Linked DNA regions of Homo sapiens: region 1 is linked to region 2. Evidence: promoter capture Hi-C in human tissues and cell types (Jung and others, 2019). All regions are on one chromosome and are shown on one strand. Each heading gives the region's core, a stretch centred on a gene start or on the middle of the fragment in contact. The rest is flanking DNA. Distances are from core to core; before and after follow the strand shown.

Region 1 (4,208 bases), core at 1,709-4,208, 510 kb before region 2:
AAAATTAGAAAGATGGAGAGAAGAGGACAAATCAGGGATATATTTTGGAAGAAAATCTGCTAGGACTTGCTAGAATAGATGTAAGGGATGATGATAAGGTAAAATTACTCCTAGGGTTATTTTTTTTTGCCTGAACCTCTTGGTGGATGGTTGTGCCTTAAAATGAGGAAGGCCAGGAAGCAGAAAGACATGTTGGAAGGTGAAAGAAAATTTAAAACTCATCTGGGTGTGTTGGCTCATGCCTGTAATCCCAGCACTTTGGGAGGCCTTGACCAGTGGATCACCTGAGGTCAGGAGTTCCAGACCAGCCTGGCCAACATGCTGCAAAAATTAGCTGAGTGTCATGGTGTAAGCCTGTAAATCCCAGCTACTTGGGAGGCTGAGGCATGAGAATCGCTTGAATCCAGGAGGCAGAGTTTGCAGTGAGCCGAGGTCGCCTCAGTGTACTCCAGCCTGTGCAACAGAGCAAGACTGTCAAAAAAAGGAAAGGAAAGGAGAGAGGAAGGGAGGCGAGGGGAGAAGGGAGGGAAAGGGGGAGGGGGAAAGGAAGTGGAAAGAAGGGAAGGAAGGAAGGAAATTAAATTTAAAATTCAGTTTTTTTTAGTGGTGATTTCTGAGATTTTAGTACACCTGTCACCTAAGAAATGTACACTGTACCCAATATGTAGTCTTTTATCCTTCACCCCCTCCCACCTTGAGTCCCCAAAGTCCATTATATCATTCTTATGCCTTTGTGTCCTCATAGCTCAGGTCCCACTTATAAGTGACAACATACAGTATTTGGTTTTCCATTCCTGAGTTACTTCACTTAGAATAATGGCCTCCAGACCCATCCAAGTTGCTGCAAAAGACATTATTTTATTCCTTTTTTATGGCTGAGTAGCACTCATGGTGTATATATACCACATCTTCTTTATCCACTCATTGGTTGATAGGTACTTATGTTGGTTCCATATTATTGCAACTGTGAATTGTACTGCTATAAACATGGGTGTGCATGTGTCTTTTTTATATAATGACTTTTTTTCCTTTGGGTAGATACCCAGTAGTGGGATTGCTAGATGGAATGGTAGTTCTGTTACCAGGGATGCTGCCTTGGGATGGATCCTTTAACCGAGATCAACAGAGCTGGAGCTCTGGACCAGCAATCTCAGTTCTTGTGATAGTGAGCAAAGAAATGCAAACTAACAGCAAAGTGCAAGCTCAAAGCAAAGTTCATTAAGGCACAGTAATACACTCTCAAAGGGAGAGTGGGCCAACTTCTACGAAGTGAAATCAGCCACTCTTTGCAGAGCTCAGGATGCTTTTATGGGAGGAGTTGAGGCCTGGGCTGTGTTTGAGTGACAGGATGATGTCATTTGATTGGCAGTTTATAGTTACATAGCTGAAGTTAAACTGAGCATGTTTTTACCGATCTTTCGTTAAGAAAAGCCCACTCAGAGGGGCAAAACCACAAGTAAATTTTACTATAATGACTGTATAATAAGGATGGGGTTCCCCAGGGTTATGGCCTAGATCAAGCTTGTCCAAATGTGGCCCAGGACAGCTTTGAATGTGGCCCAACACAAATTTGTAAGCTTTATTAAAACATTATGAGATTTTTTGCAATTTTTCTCTTTTTTCTTTTTTTTTGCTCATCAGCTATTGTTAGTGTTAGTGTATTTTATGCATGGCCCAAGATGATTCTTTCAATGTGGCCCAGGGAAGCCAAAAGCTTGGAAAACCCCTGGCCTAGATGGACGGGGCATGTGTCACATTAGGAAATTTTTATCTGTGCCCCAGTTTTTCTTTCCCCAGGATGTGCTGGCCACAGACTTTATCACAAATTCTGTCCATTAGGGTGGAGCTATGGTGATTTGGGGGCTGAATTTAGGTGGGCCAGGGCCTGTCTTAGTGACAGCCCTTCTGCTTTCTTCTCTCACCCCCTCCGAGCTGCTAATGTCTACCTAACTACCTAACAGCTCTACTTTTAGCTCTTTAAGGAATCTCCATACTGTTTTCCATAATGGTTGTACTAATTTACATTCCCACAAGCAGTGTAAAACTGTTCCCTTTTCACCACATCCACACCAACATCTATTGTTTTTTGACTTTTTAATTATGGCCATTCTTGTAGGAGTAAGGTGGTATCTCATTGTGGTTTTAATTTGCATTTCCCTGATGGTTAGGGATGTGGAGCATTTTTTCACATGTTTATTGGCTGTATCTCTTCTTTTGAGAACTGTCTATTCATATTCTTTGCCCACTTTTTGGTGGGATTATTTCTTAAAAACTCAGTTTTAAGCATGTTAAGTTTCAGTTGCCTAGTAGGCATCCAGTTGAGATGCTGAAGAGGCAGGAAACCATCCTGGTCTGGGTGCAGCTCCTGTCAGGGTATAGATTCAAAGTTCATCTAAATATAGACGGTCATTGAAGTCATGAGATTAGATGAGATCATCAAACGAGATAGAATAAATAAAAAAAAGAAAGAAAGATGGTTTAAGGACCAAGCCCTGGGGGCTGTTGTTTTCTCTTTCTGGAAACTTGAAATTTAAAAATAACATATTTTGTCAACATATTTTATCATATTTTATCAAAGAATTATGCAAGCACAAAGTTAGAGTTATAATAGATAACTGAGATATAAAAGAACCCTACAAAATGTGGTTGACAGTTCATGCGTGTGGTATTTGTTTGTGAAAACCCTGAGCTATGTATGGACCAATTCCCATGAAAACAAATAATGATGTTGCTTTATTACCACACATTGACCTTCAGCTAATCACAACCAGACCTGAAAAACACAAATGATTGCATTAGTTTCTTTGAACACTAGAGGGAGATAAAGTCACCTGTAAATCAGGAAAATAGAAAAATCCTTTTTTCCTACAGAACTACTCTTACCACAGAATCATAGAATATTTTAAAGTTTGATTATTTTTACAATCATCAAGAAATACAGTCATGTATTATAAAACTGGAACAAGCCAGGCACGGTGGGTCACTCCTGTAATCCCAGCACTTTGGGAGGCCAAGGCGGGCAGATCACCTGAGCTCAGGAGTTGGAGACCAGCCTGGGCAACATGGTGAGATCCTGTCTCTACAAAAAATACAAAACTTAGCCAGGCATGGTGGCAAGCACCTGTAGTCTCAGCTACTGGGAGGCTGGGGTGGGAAGATTGCTTAGGCTCAGGAGATTGAGGCTGTAGGCTGTAGTGAGCTGTGATCATGCCACTGCACTCCAGCCTGGGCAACCGAAGGAGACCCTGTCTCCAAAACAAAAAACACTGGAACAAATTACATATGTTTAGAAAGTAGCCTGACATATTTTTTAAATCAGGTTTTGCTAAAAGGCTTTTATATATGCTAATAATGTACTATATTTTCAGGTGATACCTTAGTCATTTTTCCCTTGGGCAATGCAAAGCAACAACATATAAACCAGCTAATTTTTATTTGAAGAAACAACTCTTCCTCCCTTGGAATTCCAGTAATAGGCTTACTGTAAGTCAAGTGTCCAAAGAATTGCCTCTCAACCTTATGTCTGTGGACTTTGAGAATGTGCTGTACTTCATCACGTTCCATGTTTTTCAGGTGGCTTAAAGGTCATGGGCACAGAGTTCATTCTGGACTTTTTATTTGCCCAATAAAATGCTTTTTGACTTTGCTAAGTAATCACATAGATATGTAGTGTTTTCATGATTGCTTGGGGCAACTAGAAAACTTTCTCTTTATTTACTTTGGTAATCTTTCTTAAAACATGCTAAAAAAAAAAAAAAAAGTCCTTTTTTCCAATCAAAGATTGAGTGTGAGCCCTATCCAACTGTTCCTACCCTACCGAATACTTTATTTGACCTTGTAACTAGCTTAATAAGTTCTCTTTTCCATAACCTCAACACTAAAGTGCTTCTGATAATTAAAGAGAAAAAAATATATTTTCTATCTCTAGGGGAGGATTATGGTGTAGGAAAAGAGACTGTTTTCTGGAATTAGAGTTGGTATAAATCCTGACTTTGTCTCTACTGGTTGGTGAAAGTGAAGAAGTTACTTTGCATCTGTAAACGACCATTTTCTTTTCTCTAAATTGGAATTGCAACCTTTTAGAATTGTTGTGAGCATTAATTCAGAGAATTATGAAAAGCAGCTAGCTTAGTTCCTAGCACAAAGCAGATATTCCAACTTCCCTGTGCCTTCCTCTTTCCTTCTATCTGAAATGCTTTATATTTTAA
Region 2 (4,578 bases), core at 1,350-3,849:
TGTGGCTGGCAAATGTTAATTTACTGGAATATTTTCCTTCACATTCATAAAGAGGGAAAACTAGCTTTGTGATCTGGTTGCAATCTACACAACACATAGATAATCCACAACAGTGGTAGGCGCAGAAAAGCTCCAGCTGGTTTATCTCAAATGTTCAGAATGATTTTGATTTCTTTACCGACACCACAGCCATTCATAAAGATTCATTGCCAAATGTTGCCCAATACCGTGATAGAGGCGATGGTGAAGCGAATGTCTTAGACTGGGAAATCATCATGGTGCCCAAACCTCAGAGTCTGCGGCCAAATGGTGGGGATTTGGAAATCACCTGTCACGGAGATGGTGAAGGAAACTGGATTCAAACTAATGAAGACTAAAGTCTTTCCAGCCAGAAGACGGTTTGAGTCCAAGGGGCCATTTATATACAAGAGCTAAGAAAGGTGCAACTGATTTTCCCCCAGAAGCAGCACGATTATTTTTAAGTTCAAAGACATTTTTGTTAATAAACTGCTTCACACAACCACATCGAAGCCAAAATGTGCCAATGAAATAATCAAAACAAATAGCTCAATTGGGACTTTTTGAATGTTCAACAAAAAGAAAAATTAAAGCTGGTTAGACTGCTGGATAGTAACGTTACAGTGTCTCCTTTAAGAGATCAAAATGTCTTTGCCACCCTCCACCCCACCCTACCCCACCTCTAATAGTGAAGTGGATAATTTCTGAAGAATACAATGACCCTTTATGCCTGGCTTCTCTAGTCTGCTAGGGATGCCATCTGTCTCCCACGCTATATAAACAATCCCCGCAGGAATCTTCTGATGACCAAACAGATTAGCAAACTCCAGATTTTCACGCCATTAATAATATCCCCATCCAGATTAGGCCTTTTATTTTAATAACTCCAAAGATAAAGTCAATAACTGATCTTTCTTTCTTTGTAGATAATGTGTGTGTCATTTTAAAGATAACCTCTTGGAACATACAGCCATCTGTTGGGAAGAGAAAGAAAAAAAGCTCTCTCAAAGCAACAGAAGAAATGAACCCTCGAGGGAATAGGAGAAATAGTAAAAAGAAAATCATATTTATAAGACAAACACATGGAGAGCTCTACTAATTACACTAAAATATTCTTCTTCTAAATGACAAACTATAGAACACTACTCCAGAAAAGACAAGTTTCACACTTTCACAAAGGTATATATATACGAAAACAGTTTGCGTGAGTCTAGGACAGTGAAAGCAGAAATCATAACCCAAAAGCTAAAGGCCCCCGAAGTTTGCATGCTGTCCACCTCTATCTGTAATGATCACAAATGTTTTCCTTCCTGAAGTTTAATATCGATTGAACCCTTGTAACTCTAATTGTGAGCTCTCTGTACTGACTCCAAAGACTTCTAACTCTAAAAGAAATGTGCCTGTAAAGATGTTCTCTAAATTAATAATAATAAACGACGAAAAGCACCCGAGCGCTGCTAATAGTGAAGACAAGGCATGAGAGAGTCAGACCTCTGCAGTCTCGCGTCCTCGGAAACGTCTACGTCTAAATCTGCAGCCCCAGTTTGCTCCAGGCCCCAAGCTCCAGCAGAGGATGTTCACGGCACATTCCCAACCAAAAAGGAAATGAAGCGTCCTCTCCCTCAACTGATGCTCAAATAGACCCCAAAGTCCCAGTTTCCCTGGAGAACCAAACCATCCAACACATCCTGGGCAGCGGAAACCGAAATGGCAAATGAATGACCGCGCCGGGGCGCAAGGGAGGAAAAACAAAGCCACCTCCCGCCGTCCGCTACCTGCGGCGAGGGCCGCGCGCTCACCTGGGCTTTGCGCCCGTCGCCACAAGCTGCGGGTGGGGACCCGGCCGCGGGGCGGGAGGGCGCCCCCAAAGTCGCCCGGACCCGCGGCCCCGGCGCCCTGCGGCCGGTCCGTGCGCGCCGAGGAGAAAGCAGGCGGCCGGGGGCGCCGCCGCGCGTTGCATGCAGCTCACGGCTGCTGCGGCCGCTGCCACGGAGCCGAGAGTCTCTGCGCTGCAGTCCCCGACCCCGAGACCGCGAGAAGCGCCCGGAGAGACGCGGCGCAGGGGCAGAGCGCGCTCGGCGCGCCCCTCAGCGGCTCTTCCCGCCGCCCTCCGCAGCGGGCTGGGTCTCGGCTCGCCTTTGTGCTGGCATCTTCCTAGCTCCCAGCGACACCCAGAGCTCTCGAGGCGGCTCCGCGCCGCCACCCACCCCCGGGTTACGCCACGGCCCCCGCGCGACCCGCCGATTGTGTCGAGTCAGCAGCGGCAGCGGGGACGCGCGAAGCCATGGCTCCCGCCCGCGCTCGGGAGGGCGCCGGGGGTCCTGCGCCTCCGGGAGGTTTGTGGCCGAGCGCGGCGCGGCCCCGAGCGGCCCCGCAGCGCCCGGCTCCCCGCCGCTCGCTCTCCAGGCGCCGACCCGCCTGCGTCGCCACCCTCTCGCCGCTCCCTGCCGCCACCTTCCTCCCGCCCGGGTGCCGGGCGTCCGCTCCAGCCGCGGTGCCCCGGTCCGCGGAGAGCGAAGAGTCCGGCCTCCTCACCTCCAGCCGCGCCGGCGCCCTTCCCGCTAGACGCTTCGGCGGCATCTGCCCGCACCGCCCTGCGGGACGCTGGGCTGGGAGCTGGCGGCACGTCGGGGACCGGTGGAAGGGAGGCGGGGGCAGAGGACAGGAGGGACAGCCAGACCTTGGCCAGCGGGACCTCCCTGAGGAAGGTGCGGAAGAACGGGGCGGGTGCGGCTGGGCGGAGGACGAGTCCCGAGGCTGCGGCGGAGCCTGAGTTGCTCTCCTTCTGCGAAGTCGAAGGACAGGAGGATTCCTAGAGGTGTCGCGGAGGGTGGAGGAGACCCTCTGAGGTCGTGCAGACAACACTGTTCCTCAACCCCACCAGAAAGCTGAATAGGGGAGTGTCATGCCTCGGTTTCCCCAACTGCAAGGGCAAGACGGTAATACTCATGTCGCACACACAGGGTGTGGTCACGATGAAAAAATGGATTATTGAAAGCGTTCCCAGATACTTTGCCTAAAGAGGGCACTAAAATTTAAAATTACTGTATTAATACTTTCGGCTTTCTGTTTACTTCTATAGCATCTTCATCAACCAGTCCCACGTAGGAGAAAAAGTAAAAATGCTAAAGTGTAAATATATTGTGTCCCTCCCCACCCACCCTTGCATCTGTCCAGATTTAGGGAAGATTTATTCAATTTTACAATTTAACTATATCCATATGGAGTAAGTCCCCAAATAATGGATAGCCATTCCTTTGGGACTTTTGAGTGTGTGCTCAATATTATCCATTTCTCCGCCTTTTCTGGTAACAGCAGTTCATTATTCCTATGGGAACTGCCCTTCCCCCTCACCCACAATGAGTCTTTGTGGCTCCAGGGTACTGACACCTCCCACCCTCAACCCCCAGAACTAGCCAGTCATCTTCCGGACCGCAGTGATCGGTTCTGGGTTGGGCATGTTGATCCAGGAACTCGGCCTAGGGCTTTGGATGTATTACTGCAGAAAAATAAGCTCTTTAAACTAGGATAACTAAATTGGAAGGATATAAGCCTACGGTAACAAGGACCAACAGTGCATGCCAATGAAGCCAACTTTGAGGGAAGAAAAGCTGCTGGTGAGAGGGTGATGTCCCACCCTCTCAGGAACCTCAGGAGGTAGATGTGTCTGCAGTGAACTCTACCCTTGAAGCCAATAAATCCTCTCTCTTTTATTTCAAGTCAGTGTCAGCTGTGTTTTGTCACATGTCTCAGAGGAGCCCTGACTTCTTAGTCCCCTGGATCTATCAGCCCAGGCATCACTGTTAGGATCCTCCACAGAATCAAAGAGCCCCACCCCACAAAAGGCCCAATTCCAGTTCTTGCTGGAAGAACAGGGATCCTAGAGGTTTGTTCCCACATGATGTTCTCCTTCACAACTTACTCAAATCCAGCAACCCCACACCTGCAATCCTTAGCTTCTTTGTGTTGATTAACCACTATGTTACATTCTAGTCAAAATGGGCCAGGTGCAGTGGCTCACACCTGTAATCATGCCTGAGGCAGGAGGATCTCTTGAAGCCAGGAGTTTAAGACCAATCTGGGCAACATAGTGAGACCCCACTAACACAGGAACAGAAAACCAAACACTGCGTTTTCTCACTCATAAGTGGGAGCTGAACAATGAGAACACATGAACACAGGGAGGAGAACATCACATCAGGGAGGAGGGGCCTATCGGGGGTTGTGGGGCTAGGGGAGGGATCTCATTAGGAGAAATACCTAATGTAGATGATGGGTTGATGGGTGCAGCAAACCACCATGGCACGTGTATACCTATGTAACAAACCTCCACGTTCTGCACATATATCCCAGAACTTAAAGTATAATACATTAAATAAAGAAAGAAATAAAAATAAAAATAGCCAGGCATGGTGGCCTGAACCTGTAATCGCAGTTACTCTGGAGGCTGAGGCAGGAAGATCAGTTGAGCCCAGGATTTCAAGACTGCAATGAGCTGTGATTGCACCACTGCACTCCAGCTTGAAGACAGAGCAAGACCCTGTCACCTTGTCAAAAAAG

The links. Contacts are between HindIII fragments. The study calls those that stand out against the background at their distance.
Region 1: a contact is called between a fragment that was not itself captured here and the fragment with the promoter of HECW2 in region 2, in 1 of the 25 tissues and cell types used here (IMR-90 fibroblasts).

What each region holds. Positions count from the first base shown.
Region 1 is chr2:196,075,636-196,079,843 of GRCh38, forward strand. No RefSeq gene overlaps it. Among named protein-coding and RNA genes, the nearest start is that of DNAH7, 8.9 kb to the left of the region's middle. The HindIII fragment of the contact is 5,218 bases long and covers 350-4,208 here.
Region 2 is chr2:196,590,955-196,595,532 of GRCh38, forward strand. HECW2 (HECT, C2 and WW domain containing E3 ubiquitin protein ligase 2) reads right to left here and starts at 2,600. Exons shown (of 29, transcript NM_001348768.2): 1 at 2,554-2,600. RefSeq lists silencers at 1,829-2,208, 2,289-2,558. The HindIII fragment of the contact is 8,801 bases long and covers 1-4,578 here.